Regions from separate parts of the Homo sapiens genome. Here all the other regions are linked to region 1. Evidence: promoter capture Hi-C in 16 types of primary human blood cells and fetal thymus (Javierre and others, 2016). All regions are on one chromosome and are shown on one strand. Each heading gives the region's core, a stretch centred on a gene start or on the middle of the fragment in contact. The rest is flanking DNA. Distances are from core to core; before and after follow the strand shown.

Evidence for each region. Contacts are between HindIII fragments. The CHiCAGO score rates a contact against its expected background, and 5 or more counts as called.
Region 2: a fragment that was not itself captured here is called in contact with the fragment with the promoter of CHEK1 in region 1 in 5 of 17 cell types (total CD4 T cells, non-activated CD4 T cells, fetal thymus and 2 more); the score reaches 7.8 in total CD4 T cells.
Region 3: a fragment that was not itself captured here is called in contact with the fragment with the promoter of CHEK1 in region 1 in 2 of 17 cell types (total CD4 T cells and fetal thymus); the score reaches 6.5 in total CD4 T cells.
Region 4: a contact is called between a fragment that was not itself captured here and the fragment with the promoter of CHEK1 in region 1, in 2 of 17 cell types (M0 macrophages and M2 macrophages). The highest score is 5.6, in M0 macrophages.
Region 5: a contact is called between a fragment that was not itself captured here and the fragment with the promoter of CHEK1 in region 1, in 14 of 17 cell types (erythroblasts, total CD4 T cells, non-activated CD4 T cells and 11 more). The highest score is 8.5, in erythroblasts.
Region 6: a fragment that was not itself captured here is called in contact with the fragment with the promoter of CHEK1 in region 1 in 1 of 17 cell types (monocytes); the score reaches 5.5 in monocytes.
Region 7: a fragment that was not itself captured here is called in contact with the fragment with the promoter of CHEK1 in region 1 in 1 of 17 cell types (fetal thymus); the score reaches 5.0 in fetal thymus.

Annotation. Positions count from the first base shown.
Region 1 is chr11:125,623,877-125,626,504 of GRCh38, reverse strand. It overlaps CHEK1 (checkpoint kinase 1), which reads right to left and starts at 1,342. Exons shown (of 13, transcript NM_001114122.3): 1 at 493-1,342. LOC118567325 (a long non-coding RNA gene) reads left to right here and starts at 611. Exons shown (of 1, transcript NR_170378.1): 1 at 611-1,368. RefSeq lists an enhancer at 667-1,176. The HindIII fragment of the contact is 3,445 bases long and covers 1-2,628 here.
Region 2 is chr11:124,957,428-124,960,055 of GRCh38, reverse strand. CCDC15 (coiled-coil domain containing 15) reads right to left here. Exons shown (of 16, transcript NM_025004.3): 3 at 792-941; 4 at 53-241. Among named protein-coding and RNA genes, the nearest start is that of CCDC15, 4.5 kb to the right of the region's middle. The HindIII fragment of the contact is 912 bases long and covers 886-1,797 here.
Region 3 is chr11:126,258,340-126,260,967 of GRCh38, reverse strand. The region is part of intron 7 of FAM118B (family with sequence similarity 118 member B); the gene reads right to left. It also overlaps a transcript of SRPRA not described here. Among named protein-coding and RNA genes, the nearest start is that of SRPRA, 9.2 kb to the left of the region's middle. The HindIII fragment of the contact is 5,808 bases long and covers 1-2,628 here.
Region 4 is chr11:126,238,330-126,240,957 of GRCh38, reverse strand. It overlaps FAM118B (family with sequence similarity 118 member B), which reads right to left. Exons shown (of 9, transcript NM_024556.4): 4 at 1-166. It also overlaps a transcript of SRPRA not described here. Among named protein-coding and RNA genes, the nearest start is that of FAM118B, 28 kb to the right of the region's middle. The HindIII fragment of the contact is 2,269 bases long and covers 154-2,422 here.
Region 5 is chr11:126,196,965-126,199,592 of GRCh38, reverse strand. No RefSeq gene overlaps it. Among named protein-coding and RNA genes, the nearest start is that of RPUSD4, 13 kb to the left of the region's middle. The HindIII fragment of the contact is 5,671 bases long and covers 1-2,628 here.
Region 6 is chr11:125,067,577-125,070,204 of GRCh38, reverse strand. The region is part of intron 1 of SLC37A2 (solute carrier family 37 member 2); the gene reads right to left. Among named protein-coding and RNA genes, the nearest start is that of SLC37A2, 5.6 kb to the right of the region's middle. The HindIII fragment of the contact is 4,165 bases long and covers 1-2,628 here.
Region 7 is chr11:125,108,540-125,111,167 of GRCh38, reverse strand. The region is part of intron 1 of TMEM218 (transmembrane protein 218); the gene reads left to right. Among named protein-coding and RNA genes, the nearest start is that of TMEM218, 1.8 kb to the left of the region's middle. The HindIII fragment of the contact is 2,643 bases long and covers 1-2,628 here.

The DNA.
Region 1 (2,628 bases), core at 93-2,592:
CCAGAGGAAATTAATTGTTGTTATGAAGAGGTGGGAGACAAATGCTTTCCGGCGAACGACTGGGGAAGGAGGAGGGAGAGGTGGGGGTCTGGGGAAGAGAGGAAGAGGATATAGGGAGCGGTATGGGGCAGAAAACGCCTGCGGCAGCGCCTCCTCCCAATTGCTCAATTCCAATTCCCATCCCCATCCACAGCCCCACCCGTCCCAAAGGCCGGGGCGGGGCCAAACTGCCCCCAGAGGCGAAAGGAAGGGCTGGGACTCTTCCTTGGGGTTCTTAGCTAGCAGCGGGTTAGTCCCTCCTGCCCCCGCCCCCACAACGGGAACCTCCTGGTACCATTCCTCCACCCTCCGAAACCGCCCCTCCGCAGGAGTCTCTCCAATCCCCTGCGCTAGTCAATGCTAACTTTCTCCCACCATGCCCTCCCTCACTAATCTAGACCCCGAACTCCTTCTTTAGAAACCTTCCCTACTCTACCGGCCGCCCTTCCTCACCGGACTGTCCTTTGCCCACCACTGCAGGAATCCAAATGCAGCGCTTTTCCCGCCAAAACTTGAGGGCGTCACGCTGCCGCAAACTCGCGCACCCGCGCCGTAAAGCAAGACAGCGCGCGTTCCCGTGTCCTGCCCCTCTGAATGTCGGCGGCTCCAAAAGGGTGACGTGGAGATGTTGCCGCTCCCGCCCAGGGCTGCTTTGCAGTCGGGGAGAGATCCTGGCTGAAGAGATTTAAGGACGGCGGACCGCATCGGCGCGAATTGAGCTCTGGGCCCAAATATGAAGTGGCATCCGGTGTGAGGCTCGACTGGGCGGTGCTCGAGCGCTGCTGGGGGAAGCCCAGGCCTCCAAGCCTCAGGGGCGCGCGACCGACCGCGCTGCGCTTCCAGGCGGGGCTGCGGGCTTCGCTCCTGGCCGCTCTGGGCCTGAAAGGCTGCACCGCCACCTGCGTGAGGCCACCGGACAGGACTGTGAGGATCACAGTCGGTGAAGCAGAGTGCTTTGTAAACCTCAGAGTGCGGTACTCGTGGTGCTGGAGCCGAGAAACCAGCAGCAGCTGCTGAGAGCCGACTGTGAAGAAATGGGAGGAACTCCGTGTTGGGAGCGAGAGGCTTCGAAAGAACTGGCCACGCAGTCAAGTGTGTGTGGCGGGGCAAGTTTCCCGGAGAAAGCGAGCAGTTTATGTTGGAGCTTGAAGTCAGGATAACCAGTTTTGCCTTTTTTCTGTGAACCAGCTCCAAAACAATGCTTTACTTCAGCCCGGTCTTTTTGCAGGAAGACCATCTGCTTAGCTTAGTTCTACAAACTTTTTCATTTTTAATGTGCAAAGAACAGGCGGGGAGAGCCAAAATAAATCTTACAACGCAAATTTAAAAGCTGCGTACGTCATTTAAGTGGAAAAGTAAATTCTGAGGAAAGAGACTCAAGAACAAAATAGGAAAAATGGAAATAAGTATTCTCTGACAGTAAACTAGACTGGAACTCAGGGATAGGCAGGATCATCTCCATTACATTCTCCAGCACTGGCCGGGCGCAGTGGCTCCTGCCTGTAATTCCAGCACTTTGGGAAGGCGAGGCAGGAGAATGGCTTGAGGCCAGGAGTTCAGGACCAGCCTGGGGAACATAGGGAGACCCCATCTCTACAAATAAAAAAATTTAGGAATTAGTCGGGCTTGGTGGTGTGTCCCTGTAGCCCTAGCTACTTGGGAGGCCTAAGCAGAACAATCGTTTGAGTCCAGGAGTTAGAGGTTAGTGAGCACTACTGCACTCCAGCCTGGGCAACAGCATGATTCCGTAGGAAAAAAACATATTTTTTTATATGTATATATTTTATATATATACATATATATTTTCTTAGTCCTTAAGACTGGGCCACATACAAACACTAAGCATAACTGGCTATTATGATAATAGTAAAGTGAAACAAGTATAAAATGTTACTCAAGGCCGGGGCCTGGTGGCTCACACGTGTAATCCCAACACTTTGGGAAGCTGAGGCGTATGGATCACCTGAGGTCAGCAGTTCAAGACCAGCCTGGCCAACATGGTGAAACCCCCGTCTCTACTAAAAATACAAAAATTAGCCGGGCACGATGGCGAGTGCCTGTAATCCCAGCTACCCAGGAGGCAGAGGCTGCAGTGAGCAGAGATTGTGCCACTGCACTCCAGCCTGGGCAACAGAGCAAGACTCCGTCTCAAAAACAAACAACCAACAACAAAAACACACATTTCTTTTAAAGAAGCAAAGTCAGGAACAAAAATCAAGGAAAAAACTCTTAAAATGCTTATGTGTATAGTTTTGAATCATGACATCACAGATTAGGCTTCATGTAATCTTTTTACAGTTTGTTGTTTTTGGAGACAGGGTGTGTTGCTCTGTCACCCAGGCTGGAGTGCAATTGGGCAGTCTTAGCTCACTGCAGCCTGGAACTCCTGAGCTCAAGTGATCCTCCTACCTCAGCATCCCAAGTCACTGGGATTACAGAAGCGAGCCACAGGGCCTGGTATAAAAATAAAAGCAAGTTTTTATATCATTTATCCCATTTTCTCTTGTTTCCTCACTGTGTGCTGAAAACAAAGAATACGAAGAGGAAGACCTGCAAATTTCCTGTGTGTCTGATGGAGTCTTTTTAGCC
Region 2 (2,628 bases), core at 92-2,591, 670 kb after region 1:
TAGGGGATAGGGAAAATATCATAGACATAAAATAAAAAGAACAGGTACTTACAGCCTGGGCTTGTTGTTGGAATAATTCGTTCTGATTCTCTTCATCCTCTATTCCATCCCCAGGCATCAGGGAAGGAGGTAACCTAGAACTTCCAATAGCAACATTCAAATTGTTTGGAAAAACACTTGTCCTTTTGGAAGTTAAGTGTGTTGCTGAAGACTGCATGGCTATGGAGCCTTCTTTTTGTGCCTACACGAAAGAAGAAAGGGGGATAGTAACATTCTACCCCAATCCAGAGCAATCAAATAATGCCTCTAAAGCAGTTCAGAAGATTTTAAATTGGGGTGGGGGGCAGGGGAGAGGCTTTAGCTGGCAGAGAAACTAACATTTACCAGGCACCTCCCATGTGCTAATAATTTAGGTTATCTCATCTAACTCTCACACAATCCTATGAGAGAAGTATCATATCCTTATTTTATGGATGAAGAAACTACAATCAGTGAAGTTAAGTAATTAGCCAAAAGTCAATAGCTAGAAGTAGCAAAGCCAAAATTCAAACTCAAGTCTGAACCCAAAATTCTGACATTGCTTTTAACTACTTGGTAAAAGCAAAAAATTGAGTCAGAACACAGGAATAAAACATGGTTTCTCTACAAAAAAAATTTACTGTCTTCACTAGTTAATTAGATTATATTAGGCATGTAATCAAAGGAAAGCAATTCTGTTACTGCCTAATAGCTTATCTCATAACACACATATTTTCCATTCAATCTTTACTCAGGCTCACTTTTGAACTTACTCTTTCATAAGACTTCTGAAGCTGTTGCTTTTTTCTCAACCTAATTTGTTGATTTACTCGGTATTTAACTTGTTTCTGAAAATGTTTCAAAGCTTCTTGTTTTTTTCTTAGCTGTTCCTTTAGTTCTTCTTCAATTAAATATGCTGATGTCTTTAAAGATGAAAGACAGAAAATGAACTTAAATGTTAGCAGTTTTGTCCATTAGGGCTGTTTTAAACACAAAACAGTCAGGATAAGGATACAATCCTGAAAAAAATAATTCCATTCTGTACAAAAAAAAATGGAATGTATGAGTATCAAATCTTAAATTTTTTATTGAATTAGAACTAACGATGTCTTCATTAAATCTTAATGAACCAAATAAAACCTAACACGTTACACATTTTCTAAAATGGAGTAAATAGTCAAGACACACCAGGTTACTTACCACTCACCAAATATGTCCTATTGTTAAAATGTCTTCATATTTGGCATTATGCTCCATTTTTAACCTGGCATGCCCTTCCTTTCATCTCCACCTAGTAAAGGCCTATTCAGTTTTCACAACCATTTAATACCCACTCCCCAGTACCTTCCACAACACTCTCTCTCTAAGCCCTCTTATGCTATAACACCTCTCATTTCACCAATGTTAACTGAGTATAGTACTTCTTGACTCCCCTACTAGATTATGAACTCTTTGAGGACAGGATATGTATTCAATTCTCCTTTATTTCCCCTACGGCATCTAGTACAGAGCCTTCACTATAAGGGTAGTCAATATATATTTATATAATTGCTCAATTCCAAAACATATTCTAAACCAGGGGTGTCCAATATTTTGGCTTCCCTGGGCCATGTTGGAAGAACTGTCACATAAAATACATTAACACTAGTAGCTGATGAGAAAAAAAAAAATCACAAAAAAACTCATAGTGTTAATTAAGAAAATTTATTAATTTACATTGGGTCGCATTCAAAGCCATCCTGGGCCACATGTGGCCCATGGCCGCATGTTGGACAAGCTTGTTCTGAACAATCTGGAACACTTTATCCCATTTGAGTTCTTGATCTGCATTTATCTCCTCTAAGTGCTTTGAATAATAATCATAGTCATCATCATAACAGCACTTATCATTATTATGGATCTATCAGGTGACAAGTATTTTAACTACTTTGTAGCACTCTATCCTCAAAACCACCTTTGGCAGTAGGTATTCTTATCCCTTATGTTACAGATGAGGAAGCTGGAGTTCAGAAAGATTAAGTAATTTTAATATAGCTAACTAGTAGCAGAATTAGAAGTTTCTGACTCCAACAATTATGTTCCTCTCTACACTGCTTTTCTCTTGACTATGTCTCTCTTTCACTAGGAATTTTCAAATTAAATAAAATCATCATCATATCTCGTACCTATTCCTTCTAACTCAGTGATTCCAACTTCTAATTCTGAAGGGTACCTCAGATCATTTTACAGGCTGTCATTAAATTCTCAAAATCAAATGCATTCAAATTTCAATTTAAGTTAAAATTTCCAAGATGTCTATCCCATAAACTACTCTAGTGGAGTGTACAAGTGTCAAAGAACAATTAGGTAAAATAATTCCAACGGAGAGATATATACGTAATGAAGCCTGAACAACTGACCCAGCTTAACTCAAGCCCCAGACAAGTTTAAGCCATTCGGCCTCTTTCTTTTACCTCCATTTTCTCTGCTCCTCTTTTACTCCACAAGATTACAAGCCAGGTCATAAAGAAACTTCCACCTCTGTTCTTAGAGTGCTCATTCTGAAGGAAGTCAGCACCATATAAAAATTCAGACTACCCTGAGATTACCATGCTGTGAGGAAGCCCAAGT
Region 3 (2,628 bases), core at 82-2,581, 630 kb before region 1:
TCAAATTAAAAATTCCATTCCTCAGTCACACTGGCCACATTTCAACGGTGCACCAGCCACATGTGGCTCCTAACTATGATACTAGACAGTGAAGATTATACAGTATTTTTATGACTGCAGGAAATTCTACTGGATAACACTTGGCATAGATAATAGTTCAGAAAAAGTAAAAAGCTGAACACATGGAAGAAAATAGTCATTAGAAATATGGTCAATTACAGTATAAACAGGCATGGTACTCAAATATACAAATTGATATTACCCTCGTAGAAAACAATTTAGCAGTATTTATAAATTACTGAAATGTTCCTGATCTTTGACCTGATTACAGTGAGAACTCATCAAGGAAATTACTGGAAAAACTGAAGAGATACAGATGTTATTTTCACAACATGACTTACAAAAAACTGGCAAAAAAAATATCAGACGTTGCCTAACAGGAATAATTAGGTAAACTGTAACACCCCTACTGGAATATAAAAGTCAATTAAAATAGTGGTTATGAAGATAGGGATGTGGGAAAATGTACAATCCACTACTGAATTTTCAAAGGACCAAAAAAAAAAAAAAATCACTATATTTTGTTTACAACTATGAAAAAAAGCACAGGGAAAACTTCATCAGAAATGTGCCAAGGCCAGGTGCTGTGGCTCACACCTATAATCCCAGAACTTTGGGAAGCTGAGGTGGGAGGATTGCTTGCACTTAGGAGACTGAGAACAGCCTGGGCAACATGGCGAAACCCCATCTCTACAAAAAATACAAAAATTAGCTGGGCATTGTGGTATGTGCCTTTAGTCTCAGCTACTCGGGAGGCTGAGGTGGGAGGATCGCCTGAGCCCGGGGAGGTCAAGGCTGTGGTGAGCCATGACTGTGCCATTGTACTGCAGCCTGGGTGAAAAAGCAAGACCCTGTATCAAAAATAGTAATAATAATAAAATAAAAATAAAGCTGGCACAGTGGCTCACGCCTGTAATCCCAGCACTTTGGGAGGCTGAGGTGGGTGGATCACGAGGTCAGGAGATCGAGACCATCCTGGCTAACACAGTGAAACGCTGTATCTACTAAAAATACAAAAAATTAGCCGGGTGTGGTGGCGGGCGCCTTTAGTCCCAGCTACTCGGGAGACTGAGGCAGGAGAATGGCGTGAACCCAGGAGGCAGAGCTTGCAGTGAGCTGAGATTGCGCCACTGCACTCTAGCCTGGGTGACAGAGAGAAACTCCATCTCAAATCAATAAATAGGCCCGGGCATGGTGGCTCACGCCTGTAATCCCAGCACTTTGGGAGGCCAGGGCGGGTGGATCATGAGGTCAGGAGACCGAGACCATCCTGGCCAACATGGTGAAACCCCATCTCTACTAAAAATACAAAAAATTAGCCGGGCATGGTGGTGGGCGCCTATAGTTCCAGCCACTCAGGAGGCTGAGGCAGGAGAATCACTTGAACCCAGGAGGCGGGGGTTGCAGTGAGCCGAGATTGTGCCACTGCACTCCAGCCTGGCGTCAGAGCGAGACTCCATCTCAAAAAAAAAAAAAAAAAAAGTACCACAACGACTGCTTGTATGGTAATGGATTATAAGAATTATTTTTCTTTTTCCCACTGCTTGATTTTTCCAAAATATGTGTAACTACATACTATAGAATCCTTTGAAGACAATTAATTTCCACTATGCAAAAGTGAGTATACAGCACAATGCCAGGCACATAGCAAAGGTTCAGTGTTAAAAAACAAAATAACAGCAAAAGACCTGTAACCTCTCATTAGTCTATATCTACAGAGACTCAAAACATTATGCAAGGGTGAAAGATAAGGTTGACTCGTTTCAAAATGAAATGATGTTTTAACCTGAAACTGCTCTACTACATTTCACATGACAAACTCAGCTGACCATTCCCATAAAGCACTCTGGCCATACTGAAAATCCTTGATTTTGTTTAAAGATACAGAACACCTTAATGATGGGTAACTTCGGGGAAAGCTACTCTGGTAGGAAGCCTACACAGCTAATAAAAGAATTTGTGCCATTCCACAATAGCAGTTAAGGTTCCTTAGAGCAATCTTAGTGCACTAAGGAACCTTACTGCTTCTTTGTTATGTAATGCAACAGTCTAAAGACATATTTATTTTTTGCTAAGATTTAGTGCAACAGAAACAGTTATGCAGACGGATTTTGCTGTTTTAAACTTTAGCATCTTTCCTCAGCATATAGATCAAAAGAAATATGTAGAACTTGGATATGTATGTCTTGTTAATGAAAACAACATGTGCAACAGAAAAGCCTTCTCAAAGTCTCAAGTGTGGGCAAACAACAGCAGGAGAGTCTAGAACACTGCAGGACACCAGAAAAACTCATTTCCAACAAAGAATAGTAAATAGTTTTCACAAATGAGACTTGTTCATGTGGTGATGGCTTTTAAAAGTCTGGTTCCATCAAAGCATAGCCATGGAAGAAGCTGTGTAATTTTTCATTACAGGAGAATTCTACTTGAAGCCATCTGATTCAGTTAAGAAATCTGGGGATGATTTGATTTAGGAAAACTGCTTTATGTTTATTAAATTACCTGTATGTTATTTATTTTAGAAACAGCGTCTTGCTTTATTGCTCAGACTGTAGGGCAGTGATGCAA
Region 4 (2,628 bases), core at 39-2,538, 610 kb before region 1:
ATCTTCTAAAAGATCAAAATCAATGGCAGCATCCAGTAAGGCCTGAATTAACCCCTTCCAGGATTTGAGGGCTGGAACTTGGGGCGCAACTGCAGCACTAATGCCTGTTCCAATCACTAGCACAAGTTCTCGAGGCTTCTTAGTTTTTAAGCTTGGAAGCAGCTTCCTATAAAAGCAAAACAAATGAGAGGATTGGAATATCCAATAGATATGAGGCACACAGAAAGACTGTCTGACTCAGGTTACAGTTTTTAGCTAACTTTTATAGTTGCAAAGAAGATGAACAGCAGTTTTTGACACCTTTCCAAAGCAGTTTAAAGAAAACAACCAGAATATTGTGTCAGTGCTTGCTGAAAAACAAGTCATAAACCTATTTCAGGAATCCCAAAACCAATCTTAAAATCAGTTTTCCCTTCCTAGTCCTCTCAACCTAAGAAATTCCACTAATATTAGGAAAAGATCCAAATAGACTATAGCTCAGCTGACTTCTGCCAACTAAATTATATTTTAAACCAGTATTAAATTTCAAAAGAAGACGTTTGATTTGTACTCTAGAAAAAGAGAAAAGAACCCCAGGACAAATTAAGTTCCTATTATTGAGAAATGTAAAACACTAGGGGAAAGGCAATACAAAATTTAATTCTGAATTTTGTAAACATTAACCTCAGGCAAAAAAAAAAAAGAAAAAAAAAGTGGCCAATAGAATTCTGAAAACACAGGGGCCCTACATACCTAAATAAAGACATTAACTAATCAAAGGACATGACAAAAAGTGAAAAACATTCCTTTCTTACCATGATAAGCAGAGACAGACTTCTCTGTTCTGAGGCCCATATGTGAGACAGCATGGGTGCTAATTTTTGTTTTTGTTCCCCTCTCTTTCATTCTGGAGACTATCCCTGCTTGAAATATGTTCCTTCACATTAATTTTTGCTGATGGCATGTTCCCCTCCCCTGAAAATGGCTTCTCCCCAACCTTTTTGTCTAAATAATAAAATGGAGAGGATCAGCATTTTGGCATAACTCAAGAAAGGAATAGCACTTTCAAGCCTTGGGAAACCTGGTTTTGGGGACACAGCCTCTAAAACTGCTTTCCCTAACCCGAGCTTCTGCATTCAGTCATTCAACAAATATGAAAAACCGAGGCCAGGAGCAGTGGCTCACGCCTGTAATCCCAGCACTTTGGGGGGCCAAGGTGGGCTGATTACTTGAGGTCAGGAGTTCAAGACCAGCCTGGCCAACATGGTGAAACTCTGTGTCTACTAAAAATACAAAAATTAGCTGGGTCTGGTGGCGCACACCTGTAGTCCCAGCTACTAGGGAGGCTGAGGCAGGAAAGGAAAACCTGTATGTACCAGACACTACGGGAGTCATGTATCCATGAACAAAATGGAGTCCCTGATCTTGAAAGATCAGTCTACTAGAAAAGACATTAATAATAGATGTTAGAAGCAAATGATGAAAAATGAGTTTCAGTTCAGAGCAATCAAGATAGTGAAGCATACACAAATCCACATAAACAAATATACACACACATAGAAAATTTCTAGGATTCACAAGATGTATAAATAGTGGTTAAATGGGGATAGCAGAGAATAAGGACTTTTTACTTTTCATTTTATACTGTTGTACTGTATTTTTTTATATAACATACAGATTTGAACTATAATTCTTCCTAATTAAGACTTCCAATTTGGCTAAGTGCAGTGGTTCATGCCTGTAATCTCAGCACTTTAGGAGGCTGAGCTTGAGCCCAGGAGTTTGAGACAAGCCTAGGCAACTTAGTGAGACCCCATCTCTGCCAAACAAAGAAAGAACGAAAAAGAAAATTAGGCACGTCTGTAGTCCCAGCTACCTGGGAGGCTAAGTTCACGGGAGGATCACGTGAGCCCAGGAGGCTGAGGTTGCAGTGAGCTGTGTTTGTGCCACTGCACTCCAGCCTGGGTGACAGAACAAGACCTTGTCTCGAAAAAAAAAAAAAAAAAGACTTCCACTTAAAAATAAAACATTTAACAATTGTGTTTTATTACTGGTTCTTTGTAAACCACCAAATAATAGTTACTTTTTTTTTTTAGCGGGTATATATACCTAAAAAGTAGGCTAGGTAAAGATGACAGCAGACAACAGAGGTCAAAGGGCAACAACATTTTACCAATTGTAATGCAAAGGCCGATTCCCTTGGTAGAATTTTGGGAATGTTCATGTACATCTAAAGGTAGAGGGGCTGGTGGGGCTAAAATAGGAGAATCAGTTACAAGCCTTTAACAGTTACAACTTTCAGCAGGCTAGAGGTTTCCCTTCTGCAGAGGTTGACCAGAGGACTATATCTGAGAACACTGCACACAGCTGAGGGTGGGGATTAAGTAAAAGTCTGTATATAAAATACAAGATTTCCCCCAACTCTCTTTCCCCAGAGGAAGCTTTTCAGACTCTAGGAATCAACTCTGTACCTGCACCCCTATCCCCCATCCAGTTAGGAAATGAGGACGATTCCTCTTTCAGGAAAATGGCCAGTATGAGATGAAAAACCTGCAGATTCTGACAGGTGGGAATTCCTTAACTCTACATAGAGTCTGGGACCAAGCCCCTTATGTACACACAGATTCTCCAACTGGCTTTTTTTTTTGA
Region 5 (2,628 bases), core at 36-2,535, 570 kb before region 1:
TCTGGACTGCCTGAGCAGCAGGTCTTGCTAGGTACAGTGGCTATCTTTTTTTTTTTTTTTTTTTTTTTTTTGAGACAGAATTTCACTCTTGTTGCCCAGGCTGGAGTGCAATGGCGTGATCTCCACTCCCCACAACCTCTGCCTCCCGAGTTTAAGCGATTCTCCTGCCTCAGCCTCCCGAGTAGCTGGGATTACAGGCATGTGCCACCATGCCCGGCTAATTTTGTATTTTTAGTAGAGATGGGGTTTCTCCATGTTGGTCAGGCTGGTCTCAAACTCACAACCTCAGGTGATCCACCTGCCTCAGCCTCCTAAAGTGCTGGGATTACAGGCATGAGCCGCCGTGCCTGGCCCAGTGGCTATCTTTAATTACTGACAATAATATAAGAGGAATTTTACCCCAGGTTAGTGTGGCCTGAGAAATGGGTTACACAGCAAAGGAGGTTGGAATGTGCCTAAAATGAACTGCATCTATTTTGAAATACTGATTAGAGCCAGCTAAAAGATATGATTTAGTGTTAAGTCATATACAGTAATTAGTATAAGAAAATGGGCTTCTTAAATTTCTATTTTTATCAAAGTTCTATGTGCACATGATTTAAAAAATCAAGAACTATTCTGCTCAAATGACTCTGGTTAAAAAAAGAATAAGAAAAAATCAAAATGAAAAATCAAGAACTAAAGGCTTGCCATGAAAAGCAGCAGCTCCTTGCCCACGTAGGGATTTTGTTTGCTGTGAGCTCTGGGAGGTGCTTGTGCTCAGCAGAGGGGGGAGGCCGGCTCTCCCAGTGCCCCTTCTGGTGGCAGCACTGGCTCTTCTGCTCCAGGAGGCAGCTTTTGGGTAGCTGGTTTTTTTCTGTGCTAGGCATGCCCAACCTAATAAGCCCACAGAGCACTTTCTCAATCCTCGTATCACACGTCTTTGCATTTGATAACCGAATTGCCCACTCTGAGCTCCTCACTCGCTTTGATTCCATGAACTCCTCCTGCATCTCCTTGTCTGACCTCCTTCCAGGCTCCTTGAAGGGCCCCAGCATGGTGCCCCCCAGAGCTCCATCTTGGCATCCTGCCCCTCTCCCAGAGGGAGAGCTGGGCCAACTTGGGAAGCCTCTACCTGTGTGCTGACGACTCGCTAGTCTGTCTCTGACCTTGATCTCCCCCTTGAGCTCCTTATCTTCACATCCATCTGCCTGTGATCGTCTCCCCTTGGGAGCTCCCTCTCCGGGCCTGTTGCTCCTGTCCTCTTACCTGCCTTAGTTTAGATGGCATCACCAGAGACCTGGGAATCACCCTTAACTCCTCCCTCGCACCAGTCCCCAAATCCAATTAGCCACTAATTCTTTGCCAGTTCCATCTAAAACCCTTCTCTTAAAATGCACTTCCCTCTTTAATTCTAATATCTCCTGAGCACCAATTTCACCGTCCCCACCCTTCAGCTATGATGGGATAGGTCTGGGAGGTGGAAGGGCATAGTGGGTTAGAAATAGGATCATAGGCAACCTGCTAGTTCCCACCAGAAACCAAACTCACAACGGGGTGTTGAGACCATCCCCAGGTTCCTGGGGATAGAGCAGTGTGGGAGGGGGTACCTGTTTTAAACAAGACAGGCAAATAGAGCAGCCTCCCACCATGTTTTCTAGGTCTGCTCTCCTTGGCTCTCTGGACTGCTTTTAGCCAGAGTGCCTGGTAGGATATACAAAAACATGGCCTCCTGCTTGTGCTTGTGCAAAGCATGCCATGTGGGTGCAGACAGCTTCTCCCAGTGCGGAGCAAAATCTGCTGGCTCAGGGCAATGTAATTCAAACACCAGCTACCCAGCGTTAGGCCAGATGTCACAAGTTAATGGCACATTCCACAGGACTTGCCTCACTTCAGACACCAGCTGCAAGCTCTGGGGTTTTCCAGCCACCTGTACTTCTGACCAACTAGCTATGAATTCAAGAGTGTTCACAAACCCCTCAGGTTTGATCATTCACTAGAATGACTCCCAGAACTCAGCAAAGCACTAGCTATGCTTACTATTATGGTTTTGCTGTAGCAATAAAATGATATGAATCAGGACCAGCTAAAAGAAGAGATGCATGGGCAAGGTCTGGGAGAGTCTCCAGCATGAAGCTACCGTGTCCTCTGCCCACCGTGTCACCCTCCCAACACATGGATGTGCATCACCAGCCAGGAATGTCACCCAAGCCCTGGTGTCCAGAGTTTTTATTGGGGTTTCATTATGTTGTCGTGGTTGAACAATTGGCTACATTGTTGAACTCGGTTCTGCTGGGTTCAAAGTGCCAACCCTCTAATCACATGGTCGGTCTTTTTGCATGGCCAGCCTGAAACTACCCATCCTGAAACTAAAGCCCCACCGTGAGTCCTCACATTTAATAGCGTAAACTATTAGGGCTCATCATGAATAACAAAAAATGTTAACATCACTTGGGAAATTCCAAGGATTTAGGTTCTCTCTCCCAGGAACCAAGGACGAAAGCAAGGCAAATTATTATAGAACTCTGAGTTTTCCTCTCCATCCCCCACTCCCTTAGGCGTCTCTTGATGTCCTCTCTTAGGGATCCCTTCATCTTGCTGTCCCCCAGCGAGTGACCAGCCTAGGTGGCTGTCTGCATAGATGCCCCT
Region 6 (2,628 bases), core at 45-2,544, 560 kb after region 1:
CGAGGTGTGGGAAAAATGGCACCACAGGAGCTCACAGCTCCTGCTCTTCCTGCCTGCCCAATTCACCCTCCTGCCCATTCCTGCTCATCCAGCTGTGGTCACCCTGGTATTTCCTCCCACAGGCTCTTCTTCTGCACGTTCTGGGCCATCCCCCTCAGAGGGCCCCAGGAAATGGGCCCAGCCCCATAAGCACCAGCCACAGTCATCTCCCATGCTGCCAGCTGCCCCCAGACGCACCCACACAGACACTGGTACAAAAGGCAGGAACCAGCCAGGCTCCAGGCTGGGGAACCTCCAGGTGCTCTGTGGCTCTGAAACGCCATGGACAAGCCATTCATTGTCATCCTGACGAGGAAGGCCTAACAGGAGGAGGAGAGCAACATCTTCCTGGACAGAAACTCCGCCATCTCTGACTCTTGCCTGGATGTCTGCAGCTGTCTCCACACACCTGGCGCCACATGACTCCCAGCCTCCTGTCCAGGGGCACCTTTTGTTCCTACCAGCTGGAGCTACATGTTACTACTTCAGAGACAGGGGACAGGCCATGTCTCCACTTGCATGCCTTTGCTGGCTCTGTGACCTCTGCTCAGAACACCTCCAGATCCAAGTCAAAGACTTCCTTCTTCTCCTAATGGAGATGATTCTCTCCCTCCACAGAAATTTATAAGCACCTAGCCAATACCAACTACGCTAGACACTGGGCTAAGTGCTTTAAGCAGCTTCTCATTTAATTTCACCAAAACCCCGTGATATAGGTACATCATTTTTTCCATTTCATAGATAAGGAAATTGAGCCTGGGAGATGTTAAGTAATTTGTCCAAGGCCAAATGGCCATGTAATCTTTTCCCCACCCAACACTATCATTAGGAAGGCAGCGGAAAGACCATGGGCTTACGAGTCAGACTAATCTTGATTCCAACTCCAGCTCAGTCATTTATCAGCTGTGTGGTGCTGGACAGGCTTACATAACTGCTCTGTGCCTCATTACACTCATATGTTCCACAGGGAAGCTAACATTCACCTTGCAGTTCCACAAAAATTACAAATAAACAATGCCTGGCACAAAGTAGTAGGAAAAACAAATAGAATATAGTCAATCATTAGTGTTTACTCAGTGTTTCATATCAGCCTGGCACTGACCTAAGTACCTTACACGTAGTACCTCATTTAAACCTCAAAACACTCGTGTGATACAGGTATTATTATTATCCTCATTTTACAGAGGAGGAGTCCAAGGCCCAGGGCCAGTCCACTTTCAGCTTCCTATTCTGTCTTCTTCACTTCTTAAATGCCCTCCTTGGGGACATGTGAAAGCAGTTAAATGTGACAGAGATTTGATTTCTCATTTTCAGACTATAAGTCTTTATTTTTATTTGTCTGCACCCTGGCCTGTATTTTGTTTAGCACAAGAAAGGTGAATTGGGTTAATATGTATCTGTAATAATAACATCACCATCATTAATAATGATAGTAAAAGCCGCCATGTATTCCATGCTTCCTGTATACCAGGCAATGTATACATATAATCTCTAACCTTTTATGTGTTAAGTGCTCAGCAAGTCAGTTTTCTTCAAAATCTCCCCAACCGACTTCTGCATTCCCCTCGCTGGTCCTCTGAATGACATGGCACATAGGAAATGCCATCCTTTGGCACTCAATAAGTAGAGCAGGGCCTTCTAAAATTGCTGACTGTGTGTACACAGCCCCTCTCCAGCTTGATTCTTAGTTCCAAGAAGGTAGAACCCTGTCTTGATTGTCTTTGCAGGCCTCAGAGCTCAGCATAATAATGTACTTACAGAAGAACTACGTGACATTTAGTGTTTGATAGGAATCCAAATCTAAACTTATCTGGAAGGAAGTAAAAGGATACCTGTTGAGTACCCTCCAGCAGCCACAAGACGTCAAGAATGTTTCCTTATATTATCGCATTTATCCTCAAGAACCCATCTGACTTTTATTGATGAGGAAACTGGGGCTCAGCAAAGTCAAGGCTCACAGTGGTGAAAGGATTTCAACCAAGGTCTGTCATAAATCCCAGAGATGTTGGGGAATACCGTAGCTGAATTCACACCTTGAGAAGTGTGAAAGTGAAGAGTGTTGGAGGCTGGAGAAAGTCATGTTATGCGTATTACTGAGCCCTTCTAGAATGCCAATGTGTTCTAGATGGTTTATAATGATCCACCCTCCCCACTCCCCATTCTCTCTGAAATGTTAGTTACTTTGGTTAAAAGATATAACTAATATACATGAATGAGACTCTACTAGGAACAATCGTGGCAGAGAGGTATGACTTTGTATACATGGTATTGAAACCTGTTTTTGTTTATTAAAAGGAAAAATATTACACATAAGAAAAATGACTGGTTGTTCCAGAATAAGAAAGGGAACAGGGAAGGTCAAATCTGAATGGATACATTTTAGGTTTGTAGAAAGGAAATTTGATTTGTCTTGGATTATAGTACATCAAACAATAAGTCTAAAAATAAGCAATTAAATGTGTTAAAATTTTGCCAAAGTTGGCAAAATCTTGATAAGTTTGTGAATATTTAATTTAAAAAGAGGAAGGGCTCCTGGAAAACCACAAAGATTTGTTCTTTCATCTTTTAAAAAGAGAGGTGCTAGAAATC
Region 7 (2,628 bases), core at 58-2,557, 520 kb after region 1:
GTGTTCCCAGGCTGCAGTGCTGTGAGATCCAGAGAGCGGATAGACCGAGGCTCTGCAGCGCTTCCAACCCACAACACCGTCCAGGAGAGGGATGCAAGGAAGAGACCTAGGTTTACTGATCCTCCTTTTTCTATCAACGTGTTAAGAGCAGATGCTACATCGGTGGCATTTTGGGAGCTTGGCAACTGATTTTTTCCCCAGGCTTGCATTTTATCTAATTACAAAGGTAGAGGCGTTATTCTAATATTTTAAAATTCAAAAGATAGTGAAGTGTTTAAAGTAGAAACATAAAAGTGTGAAAGTAACCCCCCCCCCCCGTTATTTTTGAAGGTTTGGAAAACAGCTATAAAGCAAAGTGAAAAGGACTCTTCCAGAGGAGCACTTCACTCCTTGTAACCCACTGTTTTCTGTTGCTTTCAAGGGCTTGAGTCAGTGTGAAAATCGGGGGATGGGTGAGATATCTCCCTCCAGCAGCAGCACTTAGGCCACATTACCCTCTGAGGAATCCACATTTGTCTTAGATAGTAAGTCATCTTATAAGTCATCTTATAATGGCAGTTAGTATTCTCGCTCATGATGATCAACCTGGTGATGAGTACCGTATTTTTAATCCATTAGGTTACCTGTGCAGGGATCAGTCCATTTATTCCTATTTTCTCTGACAGCTGGATGAAAGGGTATGTAGAAACAACCATTAAATGAACACACACATCTAAAAGGTTTTGAACAAACTCTCTCAGAGAAAAACCTCACAGCATTGAGCACAGAAGGAAAACATTAGCCCTGTAGTTGCTTTTGTTGTCAGCTGCTGAACTGTTCAAATTTAAATTATTTTTTTTCACTCCAGTCTACCTGCTTTAAATGCCACAGATATTAAGTAAATGGACTTACCCTTGAAATCGGGTTGGCCAAGCCATCACTTCTCAAAGAAGGTTTAATGATGGCATGAACCCGTTTTTATATTTTATTGTATTGTACTCAATAACAATAATTTAGCTATTCTAATATGGGAAATTATCACAGATATTATTCTCACATTTAAATAAGATAAAAATGACTAGATGTTCTCTCTTCCTCTATAGCAGCACTCTATACTATACCCAGCCCTTCTTTTCTATGCTTAGTAAGAAAATGTATAGTTTGCTTATAAAATTATGAGCTCCATTCTTAAAAGAGCTTGGGAATATTTATCTTATTACTTTAAAGCCATACCATATATAAATCCAATGTCTCACGAACTCTTAAGCTACTAAGGGGGATTGAAGGGCAACATTTCTAATGGCGCCAGCCAGCTTCAACTACCATTTGCCCTCTATTCTAACTGTTAGAGTTGGTCCAAGTCTTCTGGGTTATTTGTGTAATATCCAGAATAGCACAAATTAAATTTAAATAGTTGTTTTCTTAAGAGCAGTACCATCAGCTCAGTCAACTAAGCTAGAAACTTGTGTCATTTCTAACACCTTCTCCCTTGACACAGCTAAGACTGGAGGTCAGACCCTCATCATCTCTTATCTGGAGAATTGCAATAGTTTCCTAACTGGTCACCCAATTCATATGCATCCTGCTGCCCATTACCTTTTTAAAAATTAAAAATTATCACGAAAAATTTAAAAACAGAAAATAGTACATTGGGTAGTATAATATCTATGTTCCACCAATCAGATTAATAAATATTAACATTTTGGCACACCAGCTCAAGTTTTTTATTTTAAAGAAATAAAACATCACAGATTTAGTTCAGATCCCTTTTATTTCCACTCCTAACCCCATTCCCTTTCCTTCCTCCCTCTGCAGAGGCAAATAGTCTTTTGAAATTGTCATGTATTGTTTATGCCCATGTTTTTATACTTTTGCTGTATATACGTTCGTCAGAAACAATATATATTACTGTTTAGATTGTATTTAATTTTAAAAATACAAGTAGTATCATACTGTGGGTTCCATTTTGCAACTTGTTTTTGTCACTCAACATTGTTTTTGAGATATATTCACATCAATACATATAGATCAATTTCATTCATTTTAAGTATTCATTATGAATATATAATATTGTATCTGTTCCCTGATTGATGGACATTTAGGTTTTTTCCTGATGTTTTGCTATTGTAAACAAAGCTGCAATAAACACCTTGTACATGTCTCTTTATGCAAGACTGTGTCTAGAACAGTGGTTCCCCAAGAAGATGTTGCTGCCCGTTTTAGGGTGTTTTGGAATTTGTGAAGATGTATTTTGTTATTCTTTGATTGGAGGCACTACTGGGGTTTACAGATCAGGACTGCGGATACTGGATGTTCTGTAATGTATGGGACAGTCCTCACAACGAAGAATTGTCCTGCATCCTGTGCAAATTTTGAGTATCCCACAGGATACTCATTTATAATTATCTGAGTGTAGAGCCTAACTCCGGTTTTTGTATAAACATAATGTATTTTTTGGCACAGTTTAATATAGTAAAATTTCCAGGAATGCAACTCTAATGTAAATCAGAGGAAAATTATACTTATTTGTGGTTTGGAACTTTAACAAGAGTTGTTCATCACTCTAGCAAATCACATAACTGAAGGCAGCACAGCTCGTGGTATTTGAGTTGCCAGAACAACACACCTGCATAGTCTGCATTTGAAGCT